Linked DNA regions of Homo sapiens: region 2 is linked to region 1. Evidence: promoter capture Hi-C in 16 types of primary human blood cells and fetal thymus (Javierre and others, 2016). All regions are on one chromosome and are shown on one strand. The core of a region is centred on a gene start or on the middle of the fragment in contact, and the rest is flanking DNA. Distances in the headings are between cores, read along the strand shown.

Region 1 (7,570 bases), core at 984-3,483:
TGCGCCCGGCCCCCAATTTTTATCTTTAGCTTGTAATTCTCTCCTGAGCCCATGACTCATGTTTAAAAATTATGACATCTTCATTTGGATGGGATTAGGTTTCCCAATATGCCCCAAACATAAATCTTTATTTTCTCCCCACAAACCTATTCCTTCTGCTGACCTCCCCACCTCCACCTCAGACCTTGGTCTTCCCTTATCTCAGTAAACCAGCACCACCATCTTCCCTATAGCACAAGCTAATAATCTGAGTCATCCTTGACTCCTCCCTTTCCCTTGCTATCCACATCCAATTCTTCAGTACTTACTGTGGATTCTCTCTCTAAAATGTATCTTGAATCCATGTATTCATCTCAAACTCACCTGCTATCATCATAGTACCAACAGCCAACATCTCTTGCCTATATACTGCAAAAGCCTCCTAACTAGTCTTGTAGCTTCCACTCTTCTCCTCCACCCATTTGCCATACAGCAGCAAAATGGTGTTAAAATGGATAGCATCATGCCTATCCATTTTTGTGTAATCCCAGGACTTTGGGAGGCCAAGGAGGGTTGATCACTTGAGGCCAGAAGTTCAAGACCAGCCTGGACAACATGGCAAAACTCTGTCTCTATTAAAAATACAAAAAATTAGCCAGGCGTGGTGGGACACACCTGTGATCCCAGCTACTTGGGAGGCTGAGACAGGAGAATTTTTTGAGCCCAGGAGGTGGAGGTTGCAATGACCTGAGATCATGCTATTGCATTTCAGCCTGAGGGACACAGCCAGACTCAATCTAAAAAAATAAAAAAATGAAAATAAATTTTAAAAAAGCCCTTTAATGAATCTGCATTGTGCTTCAAATGCAATCCAAATTCCTTACTGACCCACCTCATCTATCCCCTGCAAACCTCCCCAGTTTTGTTTCATGCCTTTCTCTTTCTAGCTCATCAGGCTCCACTTAGCTTTTTGGCAACTGAAATGTGCCAAATTCTAGCTTGTCTGGGGGCCTGCAACCTATCTGTTTCCCTAACCAGCATACACTCACCCCCTTGCTTGGGTGGCTCCTTGTCTTTTCAGCCTTAAGTGTCAGCTCCTGGGAGGATTTCCCCCTGAAATAAAACCCCCCTTAATCCTCTATTATTAGTCTCTAGTTTCCCACGTAATGGGTAAAACAGTTTGTAACTGATTTTACGTGTGTATTATTATTTTAATTGAGACGGGGTCTCACCACATTGCCCAGGCTGGTCTCAAACTCCTGGGCTCAAGCGATCCACCCACTTCGGCCTCTCATAGTGCTAGGATTACAAGTGTGAGCAACCACACTCGGCCATGTATTTTTGTTTGTTTGTTTGCCTCTCTCCCCCATTTGTGAATTTTTTTTTTTTTTTTTTTTTGAGACAGGGTCTCACTGTTACCCAGGCTGGAGTGCAGTGGCTTGATGTCAGCTCACTGCAACCTCCACCTCCTGGGCTCCAGCGATTCTCCCACCTCAGCCTCCCGAGTAGCTGGGACCACAGGCAAACGCCACAATCACCGGCTTTTTTTTTTTTTTTGTAGGGACGAGGTTTCACCATGTTGCCCAGGCTGGTCACGATCTCCTGGACACAGGAGATGCGCAGCGCCCGCCTCGGCCTCCCAAAGTGCTGGGATTACGGGCGTGAGCCCGCGCCCGACCTCTCCCCGATTTGAACGCGTTTCGAGGACCGCTTCCCACAAAGAGTGGCATCTCAGCCAGGAGGTGAGAGCCCCGAGGGGAAAAACAGGCCAGCCAAGGGGAGTGAGGGAACGATTCCAGGAACTCAGAAGAGCAAACAAAAGCCTTGTGGAGATAGCTTACCGCTACTGAATCAGGAAAAAAAAATCGGTATGTCTGAGGTTAAATAGGGAATAGGGAAATGAGGGGCAAGGTCATATGGCCATAAACAAGGGTCTGGGCGGGGGATATGGGGTTTCGTCCCAAGGGAGGAGAGCAAAGATAACACGAGGGGAAAGGACGGGGGCCTCCCTGCTCCCTCTGGTCCCGTATCGCCCTCACATACGCGGTCAAAGTCCGGGGCGGAGAGGTGGCAGTGACAGTCCACCAAGCCTACGCCAGCCGCTCGCATTGCGCCCCGGCGGCTGCCGCTTTAGACCGGCCAGCAGAGCCGGAGCCGGAACGTTTCAGCTGCAGCGTCCTGAGTTTCCAGCCGGATGCATGCTGGTTACACCAGTGTGAACCCGCTTTTCCGCTCCCAGAGTGCCCCGCCCACAGTTCCGACGAAAAATGGCGGGGTCTCCTGAGTTGGTGGTCCTTGACCCTCCATGGGACAAGGAGCTCGCGGCTGGCACAGAGAGCCAGGCCTTGGTCTCCGCCACTCCCCGAGAAGACTTTCGGGTGCGCTGCACCTCGAAGCGGGCTGTGACCGAAATGCTACAACTGTGCGGCCGCTTCGTGCAAAAGCTCGGGGACGCTCTGCCGGAGGAGATTCGGGAGCCCGCTCTGCGAGATGCGCAGTGGGTACGGGACCAGTTAGCCAGTTCTTTACTCATCATCCTCTTACCCAACACCCAGGATCTTAGGATTCAGAAAGATCCCACGCCAGGCCTTGGCAGAATTAACGGTGCCCCAGGCTACTGTAGAACCAGTTCGAGAAACGCTAGAGGAGAAAGAAATAGATGCTAATGTCAGCTGGGTCTTATTAATTACTTAGACCAGCGCTGTCCAGTGAAAATACAAGGCAAGCTAATCTTTATGTAGTTTTAAACTAAAAGTAAGAAATAGGTGAAGTTAATGGAAATAAGACATTTTGTTTAACCCAATAAATCCAAGGTATTTTAACATGTAATAATATCAAATGAATGAGATATTTTACATTCTTTTGTTCGTACTAAGCTTTTCAAATCTGGTGTGCTGCATTTACGGCACATCTTCGAACTAGTTACATTTAAGCGCTCAGTAACTACAAAGTGGCTAGTGGCTCACCTGTTGGACAATGCAGCCGCAGACAATGAGGAATTCTCCTGGAAAGGGTAATTCTGGAAGTCAGCCATTCACCCAAGCAGCATTTGATCTTTCCTTTTGCATGTTTTATTTATTTATTTATTTTATTTTATTTTTTTTTTTTGAGACAGAGTCTCGCTCTGTCGCCCAGGCTGGAGTGCAGTGGCGCGATCTCGGCTCACTGCAAGCTCCGCCTCCTGGGTTCACGCCATTCTCCTGCCTCAGCCTCCTGAGTAGCTGGGACTCCAGGCGCCTGCCACCACGCCCGGCTAATTTTTTTGTGTTTTTAGTAGAGACAGGGTTTCACCGTGTTAGCCAGCATGGTCTCGATCTCCTGACCTCGTGATCCGCCCGCCTTGGGCTCCCAAAGTGCTGGTATTACAGGCGTGAGCCACCTCGCCCGGCCTATTAACCTTTATTTTTACTGTTTGCACTGTGGTCATTCATAACTCACAAATGTGCGGTATTATGAGCTTTTAAATTTTTTCCGCTAATATAAGTAGATTGGTGCCTGTTATAAGGAAGCACACAATCCCTTTATTTCTTGTGTTCCCAAAAAACTACCACCTTCAGGGCTTTGCAAAAATATTTAAGAAAGGCTTGGGAAATGTGGTATAGAGGCAAATGTATGATCTTAGTAAAGTTTTCAACCAACACAATTTTTTTTAACCTATTTTAGTCTTGTAAAGAAAATGTTTTCACTCTAAAACAGGCAAAAGGGGTCGGGCGCGGTGGCTCACGCCTGTAATCCCAGCACTTTGGGAGGCCGAGGCGGGCGGATCACGAGGTCAGGAGATCGAGACCATCCTGGCTAACATGGTGAAACCCCGTCTCTACTAAAACAATAATAATAATAATACAAAAAATTAGCCGGCCATGGTGGCAGGCACCTGTAGTCCCAGCTACTCGGGAGGCTGAGGCAGGAGAATGGCGTGAACCCGGGAGGCGGAGCTTGCAGTGAGCCCAGATCTCGCCACTGCACTCCAGCCTGGGTGACAGAGCGAGACTCCATCTCAAAAAAAAAAGGTTCAGTGGAAGAATGAAGAAACACTTCCTGGGTTGTGACTCTGTATGTAGTTTTGTATATAGTGACTCTTACGTCATTCCCTCCTTGCAAGCAAGGCAAGAATAGGGATATATCTCAGGACGTTTTTAGTAGTTTTTTGGGAGAAGACTTTTGTTGTATAATCTTAGAATTTGTCTGATTCTAGGAAATGCTAAGGTATTTAAAACATTTAGGTGTCTTACAGAAAAAGAGGAACTTGGCTTAACCTATTATATCCTATTTAGTGGGACGATAAAGTGAATTATAAGATAAAGTTTACAGGGCTTAGACTACCACAGGAATTCACTTGTGTTTTATTTTAAATAAAGCAGAAGCTTTATTTTGTATCTCTGTTTAAAACTGCATATTAAGTAGCAGATTTTCTTTAAAAACAGTATTGGTAGCAGTCTGCAATGAATGTTACAAAGACAATATGTTTTCTCAGCAATTCTTGAAAGTAATTCTAGAAAATAATTTTAAAACATACATAGGCCGGGCGCGATGGCTTACGCCTGTAATCCCAGCACTTTGGGAGGCTGAGGCGGGCGGATCACCTGAGGTCAGGAGTTCCAGACCAGCCTGGCCAACACGGTGAAACCCTGTCTATACTAAAAATACAAAAATTAGCCGGGTGTGATGGCGCTTGCCTGTAATCCCAGCTATTCGGGAGACTGAGGCAGGAGAATCGCTTGAACCTGGGAAGCGGAGGTTGCAGTGAGCCAAGATTGCGCCATTGCACTCCAGCCTGGTTGACAAGAGTGAAACTCCATCTCAAAAAAAACAAAAAACAAACAAACAAAAAATAAAATAAGGATTTTACTTTATGAAATCTTTGAAATGTAGAATATGTACTTTAACTCATAATTATCAGTAATTTGGTTTATGTTATTTTTAATTATACAAAGGGTACAAAATATATGCTCATAAAAAAATTCAAACAGTAGCATAAAGCAAAATTCTTTGAGTTCCCCTTCCCCATCCCTCTTCCTTCTAGGACATAAGGTACTATTTTGGAGAGTACTTGGGGAGAGTAAACTTTCTATACCCCCTTTCTGTGGCTTTACCTCTTTCTCTCTGTTTATGTTTGTTTGTCTCCATTAATAATGTCATGCTGATGAATTGTTATTGACCTGCCTTTTTTGAAACCAAACATGTCTATTATTTGTTAGTGTTACGTAGAGCTTGTCTTCATCCTTTTTAGGTACTGCGTGGTATGAATATTGTCTATTTAACTCTTCTAATTTTGACTTTAGGTTTTTTCCCACAATTTTAAAAATTTCAAACAGTGCTGAAATGAACATTTCTAGCACATTCTCTTTAGTTTTTATGAGAGTAGTCCTTTAGGATGCATTGCTAGAAGTGAAATTGTTGGGTAATAGGAAATGTGTACTGCCGAATTCCTTTAGTCCATCATTTAAAAAAAATTTTGATGAAGTCCAATTTGTCTATTTTTTGTTTGTTTTTGTTTTTTGTTTTTTGGTTCTTTATCTTTTAATGTATTATGAACATTTTCAACCTTACAAAAAATTAGTTTAGTACAGTGGACACCCATATATCCACCACCAAACTCAACAGTTGTCAAAATTTTGTTACAGTTGCTTCTCCCTCTGTCTCCCAGGCTGGAGTACAGTGGCAATCATAGCTCACTGTATTCTCAAACCACTGGGCTCAAGTAATCCTCTAGCCTCAGCCTTTCAAGTAGCCGGGACTACAGGCATGTGCCACTGTGCCTGGCTAATTTTTAAATTTTTTAGTAGAGAAGGTTGTCTCAGTGTGTTGCCTAGGCTGGTCTGGAACTGGCCTCAAGCAATCCTCTTGCCTTGGCTTCCCAAAGTGATGGGATTATAGGCGTGAGCCACTGCACCTGGCCTACGTTTGCTATTTTAAAGCATATCTTAGATCTCATGTCATTTCATCGCTACATAAGTGTTCATCTCTCAAAAATACAGCCCTTTATAAAATATAATTTTATTTTTAAGCATGTATGTTTTCCCTCTTGTTAACATCAACAGTCATTCAGCAGCATATATAGTACTTATACCCCTGAGATTCAACTGAGCCTAAATTTGTTAGATTTTATTTTTTCTTTCATTCTAGGAGTACTTTTTTTTGTTTGTTTATAAGAATATTCCAAAATTTTAAATCAGATTTTCTCTTGGGTAGCATAATGGCTATGAGACCCAAAATGTAGGTAGAATCAATGATTGAAGTGGAATCTTCATTGAAAAGAATAGATATACTAATTAGCTATTCTGCTACTTTTATTTCCTCTGTCACAAATCTGGAAGTATTATTTTGCTAAAACGTTTGAATTTAGTATTTAAAATTATTTTTAGTGACTTGACTACTGTGAATTTATTGCAGACTTTTGAATCAGCTGTGCAAGAGAATATCAGCATTAATGGGCAAGCATGGCAGGAAGCTTCAGATAATTGTTTTATGGGTATGTGACTTTTTCCTTCCATTATTAATTTCTGGGTTATTTTTGCAGCTAATTTTGTTTTGAATGCTGTTTTTTAATCTCCATATTTAGTGTCATTTATTTTCAAGAAGTTGTTTACTAGGGGAGTAATAAAGAACTGAGATTATGACTTCAATAGTCTTCTTTGTCAATAGTTTATTGGAAAATACTGTAGAGCTATCTCCAGATGACAAAAGAGGCCCAGGGAATTTCTGTAATTATTTACAAAGCAAGTTGTATTTTTGTAAGTGATCTCTAGAGTGAATAGTGAAGTACCCTTAAAAGTGTGAAGTTATTATTAATTATACAAGTACCGTGTAAAGGATGAGGTTACATCTTTGTAGAAGGTTCCTTAAAAAGACAATTTTTTTTTTTTTTTTGAGATGAAGTCTCACTGTCACCCAAGCTGGAGTGCAATGACACAGTCTCAGTTCACTGCAACCTCTGTCTCCCAGGTTAAAGTGATTCTTGTGCCTCAGCCTCCCTAGTTGCTGGGATTACAGGCATGTGGCCACCACGCCTGGCTAACTTGTATTTTTGGTAGAGGACAGGGTTTCATCATGTTGCCCAGGCTGGTCTCAAACTCCTAGCCTCAATCTCCTAAAGTGCTGGTATTACATATGTGAGCCACTGCTCCTGACCTTGTTCTCAACTCTTGGCTCATAGTAGGCACCTATGAAATATGTTAAATTAATGAATAATTCTTTCCTGTTCAATTTTTCTTTTCTTTCTTTTTAGACAGAGTTTCACTCTTACCTAGGCTGGAGTGCAGTGGCGCGATCTCAGCTCACTGCAACCTCCACCTCCTAGGTTCAAGCAGTTCTCATGCCTCAGCCTCCCAAGTAGCTGGAATCACAGGTGCTTGCCACCACGCCTGGCTCATTTTTGTATTTTTAACAGAGATGGGGTTTTACCATGTTGGCCAGGCTGGTCTCGAACTCTCAAACTCAGGTGATCTGCCTGCCTTGGCCTCCCAAAGTGTTGGGATTACAGGCCTGTGCCTGGCTTCTGTTCAAATTTTGTGATACATTTTAATTGTAGCTTTATCACTAGGTAGTGCTAAGAAAGCATGTTCCTCTCTACAAAAAAGATTTACCTGGG
Region 2 (7,221 bases), core at 3,078-5,577, 300 kb after region 1:
ATAGAAGGACAAAAGAAACACCTTACACCATCATGTTCAGTTGTTCCTTCGGTTGAGGGATGCTGAGGCCCAGCAAGAGGGAGGATATCCCAAAGCATCACAGCACGTTGCCTTTAGAGCTGGGACTGAGACCTAATCCCCAAGTTTCCCAGACAGGGCCTGTCCTCTGGTCCCCCTCCCGCCCACGACCACAGAAAGGTCACTGCTTTCTGGCAACAATTTTCAGTCTCCTGAGCTATAAATTTAGAATAAGGAACCTACAGAAAATAAGTAAATTAGGTATGAGGAGGCGGTATTTTTAGCTTTGCTGGTTTCCAAGTGCATGCATCTATACAAAGCTCGGTAAGTATGGCTATATATAGGCATACTTATCAGAAAGCCAGTTGAGTGAGTGGTGGGTCAGCTTTTCTGGGGGTGGCTGAGTGAGCCTGTTGCAACACAGATGGTTTTGAGCCAGAGTGGCTAATTCCAAGGAACTGGCGCTGCTTGAGTCATCTGGAAGCTCCACACCTCGCTTCAGGAGTTCAGAAAGAGTGGGAGGAGTTAGATCCTCTTTTTCCTTCTCAATCAGCCAGAAGCACCAATGAAACCCCAAGGTCCACCCAGCTAGTAACTGAAAAAAGCTTTTATGGTCAAAATCTCCCTAGTGCTCAATTGTTCTCTCCTTGGGGGCAGATGGGGATTCTGAAGCGGGGGCCTGAGCAGAAACCTGGAGCTTCTGCATCCCTGATGGACCCGACAAGCCTCTCTGGGCTTTGGTTCTTTTGGCTACCAGGACATTTCTCAGATTTCAGACCAAGCCTGGGTGAGCATGGAGCACTACCTTCAGCCAGGCACTCTGTCCGCATATGTAAACTCGTTTTGTACAACTCGACTACGGAGATACTTTTATTACTTTTATTATTGTCCCCATTTTACAGTTGGAGAAAGCAAAGCAAGGAGTAGATAAGTAACATGCCCACATCTCACAGCACAAGCGCAGACCCAAGCAGTCTAGCTCCACAGCGGCTGCCTGGAACTATCAGCTTATGCTAATAGTTCCCCCTGACTGCAGGGCACGCAACCTGAGTCAAAGTCCAAACTATATGCAGCCTTCATTCCTTCAGCAAGTATTTACTGAGCATTTACTATATGTAGGGCATTTCTGAAGCTCTGAAGTTCATGGCTGGATCCAGGGTTGGATGCTGCAAACCTTTGGCTGGACACTGAGCTAAGTAATGCATGTGGAACAATCCCATTGGCTGCTTGTGGAAACTGAGTGAGGGCAGGGCTAGTTCCTCTCATTTGGGGCAGCCTGAGAGAGGTATCCTGACCCATGCAGTAGAAATAGAGGCTAGATCCCCCTGTGCAGAGCAAAAGCACCAAGCACTGAGGTTGGAGGAGACTTCTGTCCTCATGTAGCTTATGTTGGATATAGTGTGGGGACACAGGAAATGAACACAAACAAGTAAACAATATACTTCAAAATGGTTATAAAGGCTGTAAATTAAATGTAACATGGAAATGAGACTGTTATGGGTTGAACTATGTTTCCACAAAAAAACTAGGGGTTCTGCATGAATCCCTAGTACACTTATTTGGAGATAGGTTTTGTTGTTGTTGTTGTTGTTGTTGTTGTTGTTGAGACAAAGTCTCGCTCTGTCGCCCAGGCTGGAGTGCAGTGGCATGAAAAGATAGGGTTTTTACAGAGGTAATCTAATTAAAATGAAGTCAGTAGGGTGGGCCCTAATCCAATATGACTGGTGTCCTTATAAAACAGAAATTTGGAGACAGACATGTACACAAGAAGAATGCATGTGAAGATAAAGGTGGAGACTGAAGCGATGTTTCTACAAGCCAAGGAACACCAGAGATCGCCAGCAAACCATCAGGAGCCAGGAGAGAGGGCTGGGGCAGATTCTCCCCCACAGCTCCCAGAGGGAACCAACCCTGACCTTGGACTTGTAGTCTCCAGAATTGTGACACAGTTCAGTTCTGTTGCTTTTAAGTAACTCAGTTAGTGGCACTTTGTTACAGCAGCCACTGCAAACTAATATAGGGACAAAGAGTGTTAGGGGAAGAGCAGGATTTTGGCTACCAGATCGGGTAAGGTCTATCTGAGGAGGTGACACTGGGGCTGAGACCTGAATATTGGGAAGGAGATGGTTGTGGGAAAAGCCGGGGAAAATCCACATCCTAGAGATGGAAACAAACCTGCCATATCTGCAGCAAAGCTGAAAGGTGTGTGTCTGGAGCCAGGTGAGGGAGGGTGGACAGGTTCAAGCTGAGGGCAGAAGGAAGGCAGGGCCCCAGAGCAGGTAGGGACTTTCATAGTACATGCTGGGAAACCAATGCGGGGAATGGTTTTAGGCAAAGAGTGATGTGAGACCCTACTTTCCCCTTGAAAAGATCCCTCTGGCTGCCCCAAGTGGACTTGAAGGTGAGGCAGGGGAAAGTCGGCTAGGAAGGTGAGGCTCAGGTTCAGCTGCAAAGTGATGGAGGCTCAGATGAGGGGTCTGGCGGAGGAGCAGGGAAGTGATCTGGTTGGTGATAAACTCTGGAGGCAGAACTCCAACAGGACTTGCTGGTGGACCCACCGTGGGATGAGACAAAAAGAGAGTCAACTGTGACCCTTACGATTTTGTCTGAGCAACAGAGTGGACAGCGCTGCTTTTTACTGTGGGATAATGAAGGGGTAGAGTGGAGAGTTGTTCTGAAGAGGGACAGCCAGCCTCCATCCAAACGTGACTTCTAAAATGAGGCCAAACTGAAGATTGAAGAAACAGAGTCCCTGTCCTGGAACTCAAAGCCTGAGGGACACAGATGTGTAAACAATAGCAATGCAACGTGTGAAGTAGCTGGTGACACAGCTGTGGGAGTGATTCTGGGGAAGTTGGACAGAAGAGGTTTTTGTTTTGTTTTGTCAAAAACCATTTCTAAGTTACATAAGTGCTGCAAAAATAGTACAAAAAATTCCCGATACCCTTCACCCACTTTCCCCAAATGTTAACATCTTACATGTTTACAGTGCATCATCAAAACCAGGAAATTGACATAACTACAAACCTGATTCAAATTTTGTCAATTGCCCCACAAATGTCCTTATCTGACCAGGAGCCGATCCAGGATCACATAGAGCATTTGTTGCCAAGCTTCCTTGTTTCCTCTAGTCTGGGATAGTTCCTCAGCTTACACTTACACTTTCATGACCTTCAAACATTTGAAGAATACTAGACACTTATTTTGTAGGATGTCCTTCAATTTGGGTTTAGCTGGTATTTCCTCAGGTTGTGAATTATTTATTTATTATTTATGTTTTTCTTTACTTATTTATTTACTTATTTATTTTGAGACAGGGTCTCACTCTGTCACCCCGGCTGCAGTGCAGTGGCACGATCTTGGCTCACTGCAACGTCCGCCTCCCAGGTTCAGGTGATCCTCCCACTTCAGCCTCCTGAGCAGCTGGGACTACAGGCACACTCCACAGCACGCTACGGCTAATTTTTAAATTATTTATAGAGACAAGGTCTCCCTATGTTGCCCAGGCTGATCTCAAACTTCTGGACTCAAACGATCCTCCTGCCTCAGCCTCCCAAAGTGCTGATATTACAGGCATGAGCCACCACGCTCAGCCAAATTTTTTAAGAGCACCACATAAGTTTATGTTGTGCCTTTCTTGGTACATTATATCAGATGGTACATGAGGTTGATATGTTCTATTATTTATTATGTTAACTCTGATCACCTGGTTAAGGTGGAGTCTGCCACATTTTTCCTACTATAAAGTGACTACTTTTCTCTTTGCAATTACTAACCATCTTATGGGAAGGCGCTTTGAGATAATGTAAGCATCTTGTTTCTCTACATTTTCGCTCATGAGTGTTTGTTTCCATTGATGATTCTTGCTTAACACAACTATAATGGTAAGTGTTTGCCAAGTGTTTTCTATTTCCATCATGCCTTCTAATTCCTACTAATTATAATGCTGCTTTAAGGAAGAACTCTCCCTTCTTGCCTGTTTATTTGCTTATTCGAATATTTACCTCTATTGGTATAGACTCATTACTTCTTGTTTTATCCTTAAATGCTGTAAGTTATAATCTATTGTGATCATTATTTATTTTGTGGCTCCAACTATCTCATTTTCGGCCATCAGCAGCCCCTTCAAGTTAGCTCGTGGGTTCAAGAGGAAAGTTTTGAGCAGGGTCATGAACAAGGCATGGGGGCTTGATAGAGAAGAGGGAGAGGAAAGGCTTCCAGGCCTGAGGGAGCCTTGAGGACATAGCTAGCACCCTCTGAGGATGTTGGCTGTCCTCTGAGCTGGCTGGTCCTCACTATGAGGGCCAGGAGGATGCAGCCACACACCTTGCTCAGATGGACAGACCTCCACAGAACGCCATGTCCGTGTGGGCTTCGCCGCCAGCAGGACTTCCTCAAGGATCTTCTGGAGCTGCAGCCATGAATTCCCAGCACTCAGGGTGTTAGTGCATCCACCTGGGTTTGCTCATGAGAAGCCCTCCACCATGTCCATGAACCCCTCCCGCCACCTCCTGCCTGCCATTGCTTTGCCAGACTGGATATCATCCAGGGCTGTGGTGTCCCCACTGCTCTGCCTGTGTCTGAAGGGTGTTTCCTGGACTTCTCTGCCTGAAGAACTTGTACCAGGGGAGGCTCTCAGAGCTATGGAGTGGCAGAACCATGTGTCCTACAGATTATTTAGCACACCGGCTATTGTTTTGACTTGTATGTTGTCATTTTCTCAATCCAGGGCCTCTGTGAAGTCTTGAGTGGATGCCCAATAGGCTAAACAGAAGGGAGTGGGTGGAAGGGGTAGAGGAATGGCAGTTGCAGGACCATCATTCTGGTCAAGGCCCCAGTTGGCAGGGATAGAGCTGGGCCCTGAAGGGAAAATGGCCAATCTAAGGTCACAGGGACAGTTGGTGGCTAAGCAGAACTAAAATCCAGTGTCCATGTCCTTCTCACCATTCCACATTCCCAATCCACTCTGCTTCTTGTTTATCAGCTACTGATGAGGCCACAGTCCGGGTGTACGTGTCCATTTCTCTTGTTTCCCCTGCAGGCAGAGAGATGGAGGCCAATCTTCTGGCCCCTTTCTGGGCCAGGGCCTCTAGGCACATGGGCAGCACTGACCACTTGCCCACAGGGAAGGGGAATGTCCTGGGTCACGTAGCAAGCACAAGGCTGAGGGCAAGTCTGGGATCACCTTGCAGCCTCTCCACTGTAGGCCCATGACCTCACCCAGACCAGCACTAAGTTAGCCACCCCTTCTTCCATCTCTTCTTCCTCTTCCTTCAGTCCCAGAGGGGAAATGGGGCCCTTTTTCTTTTTTTCTTTTTAAATTTCAAATTAAGGGCTGGATGCTGTGGCTCACAGCTATAATCCCAGGAATTTGGGAGACTGAGGCAGAAGGATCGCTTGAGGCCAGGAGTTTGAGAGCAGCCTGGGCAACATAGCAAGAACCCATCTCTATTTTTTTAATTAAAAAAATTAAAAATAAATAAATAGATTTCAAAGTAAGCTTACAGTAGGTTAAACATTCACGATTCAAAATTCAAAACATACAAAAGTTATGCTGTAAGAAGTCTCCTTTTTGACCCTATCCTGTGGACACTCACTTTCCAGCTGTGGTTAGTTTCTCCTGCAGCTTTCCAGAGATGTCTGCATAAGGCCTTACAAATGGTTTCTGTAAAGAGCCAGGTAGAAAATACGTTCAGCTTTGAGAGCCATAGGCCTCCTCTCACAACTTTTCAATACTGCATGGTAGTACAAAAGCAGCCACAGATGATACCTAAACTAATGAATGTGGCTGTGTTCCTGTGAAATTTTTTTATGGACACTGAAATTTGAATTTCATGTAATTTTCATATATCACAAAATATTATTCTTGGCCAGGTGCAGTGGCTCACGCCTGTAATGCTAGCACTTTGGGAGGCCAAGGCAGGTGGATCACCTGAGGTCAGGAATTCCAGACCAGCCTGGCCAACATGGTGAAACCCCATCTGTACTAAAAATACAAAAATTAGCTGGGTGTGGTGGCACACACCTGTATTCGCAGCTACTTGGGGAGACTGAGACATGAGAATCCCTTGAACCCGGGAGGCAGAGGTTGCAGGGAGCCGATAGCCACTGCAATGTCCAGTCTGGGTGACAGAGTGACACTCCGTCTCAAAAATATATGTATAAATAAATAAATATTATTCTTAATTTTCCCTTAAACATTTAAAAATGTAAAAACCATGCTTAGCTCAAGAACTGTACAAAAATATAATATTTCAATGTATGGATGAACCATAATGTATTTAAACAATGTCCCATTGATGGACATTTAGGCTGGTTCTAGTTTTTTGCTATTGCATCTAATACTGCAGTGAATAAACTCACCCACACATAATGTTATGTGCAGGTAATGTATCTATAGGATAAACTGTGGGACATTTGATCAAATCTGAACAGCCTTCCAGCCTCCTCCATCTCCTTTCTCATCTTGCTCCCTTGGTACCTGCCAGTTAACATCAAATGTACTGAGAGCCTCACAAGTTCTAGCCACCTTGCCAGGTGCTGAACACCAGCCAATAGCCCAGCAGGACTGGTTTCTTCTTTCCTCATGTCACATAATCCCTGGAGTCTGGTGGACCAGAGCTTGCGTTGCAGCTCCTCGCCACACCTCAGTTTCCCAGGCTCCTTCTACCCTTTTGCTCTGCCATACTTAGGATGTGATGTGACTTCCATCTTCAAGGTTGCCATATGGTCGTGACATGGCCACTGTGGCTCCAGACATCATATTCTCATCCCATAGAATAAAAGAGAAAAGAGGGTAAGAGGCAGCAGAGCACACATCCGTGGAGTCAGCCTCCTTTAAAGGGCTTTCTCGGAAGTCATCCCCAGATGCTTCCATTTTCATCTCATTGGCCTTACCTGTGACCCATGAGCCCCTGAATGCCAGGAAGCCTGGGAAGTTTGTTAGCTGGACACATTGCTCCCCAAAGCAACATTGGGATTCTGTTAGTGAAGAAGTGGAGGAAGTAGATACAGGGTAGTTAGTTAGCTGTCTACCACAGTTGGGATAATCTGGAAGACTTCGTGGAAGACATGGGCATCAGTAGAATTCAGACAAGAATTTAGCGCATACCAAGAACTTTATTGCATGCTGGATAGGTGGGGGAGGGGAGGCTCCTTCTGTTAAACTCACATGTGAGGGAACAGTTTCAGTTCCCATTTCGG

Evidence for each region. Contacts are between HindIII fragments. The CHiCAGO score rates a contact against its expected background, and 5 or more counts as called.
Region 2: a fragment that was not itself captured here is called in contact with the fragment with the promoter of NSL1 in region 1 in 1 of 17 cell types (monocytes); the score reaches 7.6 in monocytes.

What each region holds. Positions count from the first base shown.
Region 1 is chr1:212,786,440-212,794,009 of GRCh38, reverse strand. NSL1 (NSL1 component of MIS12 kinetochore complex) reads left to right here and starts at 2,233. Exons shown (of 6, transcript NM_015471.4): 1 at 2,233-2,480; 2 at 6,373-6,451. The coding sequence starts at 2,247. It overlaps TATDN3 (TatD DNase domain containing 3), which reads right to left and starts at 2,116. Exons shown (of 10, transcript NM_001042552.3): 1 at 2,023-2,116. The coding sequence starts at 2,088. RefSeq lists enhancers at 2,028-2,307, 2,782-3,560. The HindIII fragment of the contact is 10,286 bases long and covers 1-2,857 here.
Region 2 is chr1:212,491,636-212,498,856 of GRCh38, reverse strand. No RefSeq gene overlaps it. Among named protein-coding and RNA genes, the nearest start is that of LINC02771, 22 kb to the right of the region's middle. The HindIII fragment of the contact is 2,387 bases long and covers 3,134-5,520 here.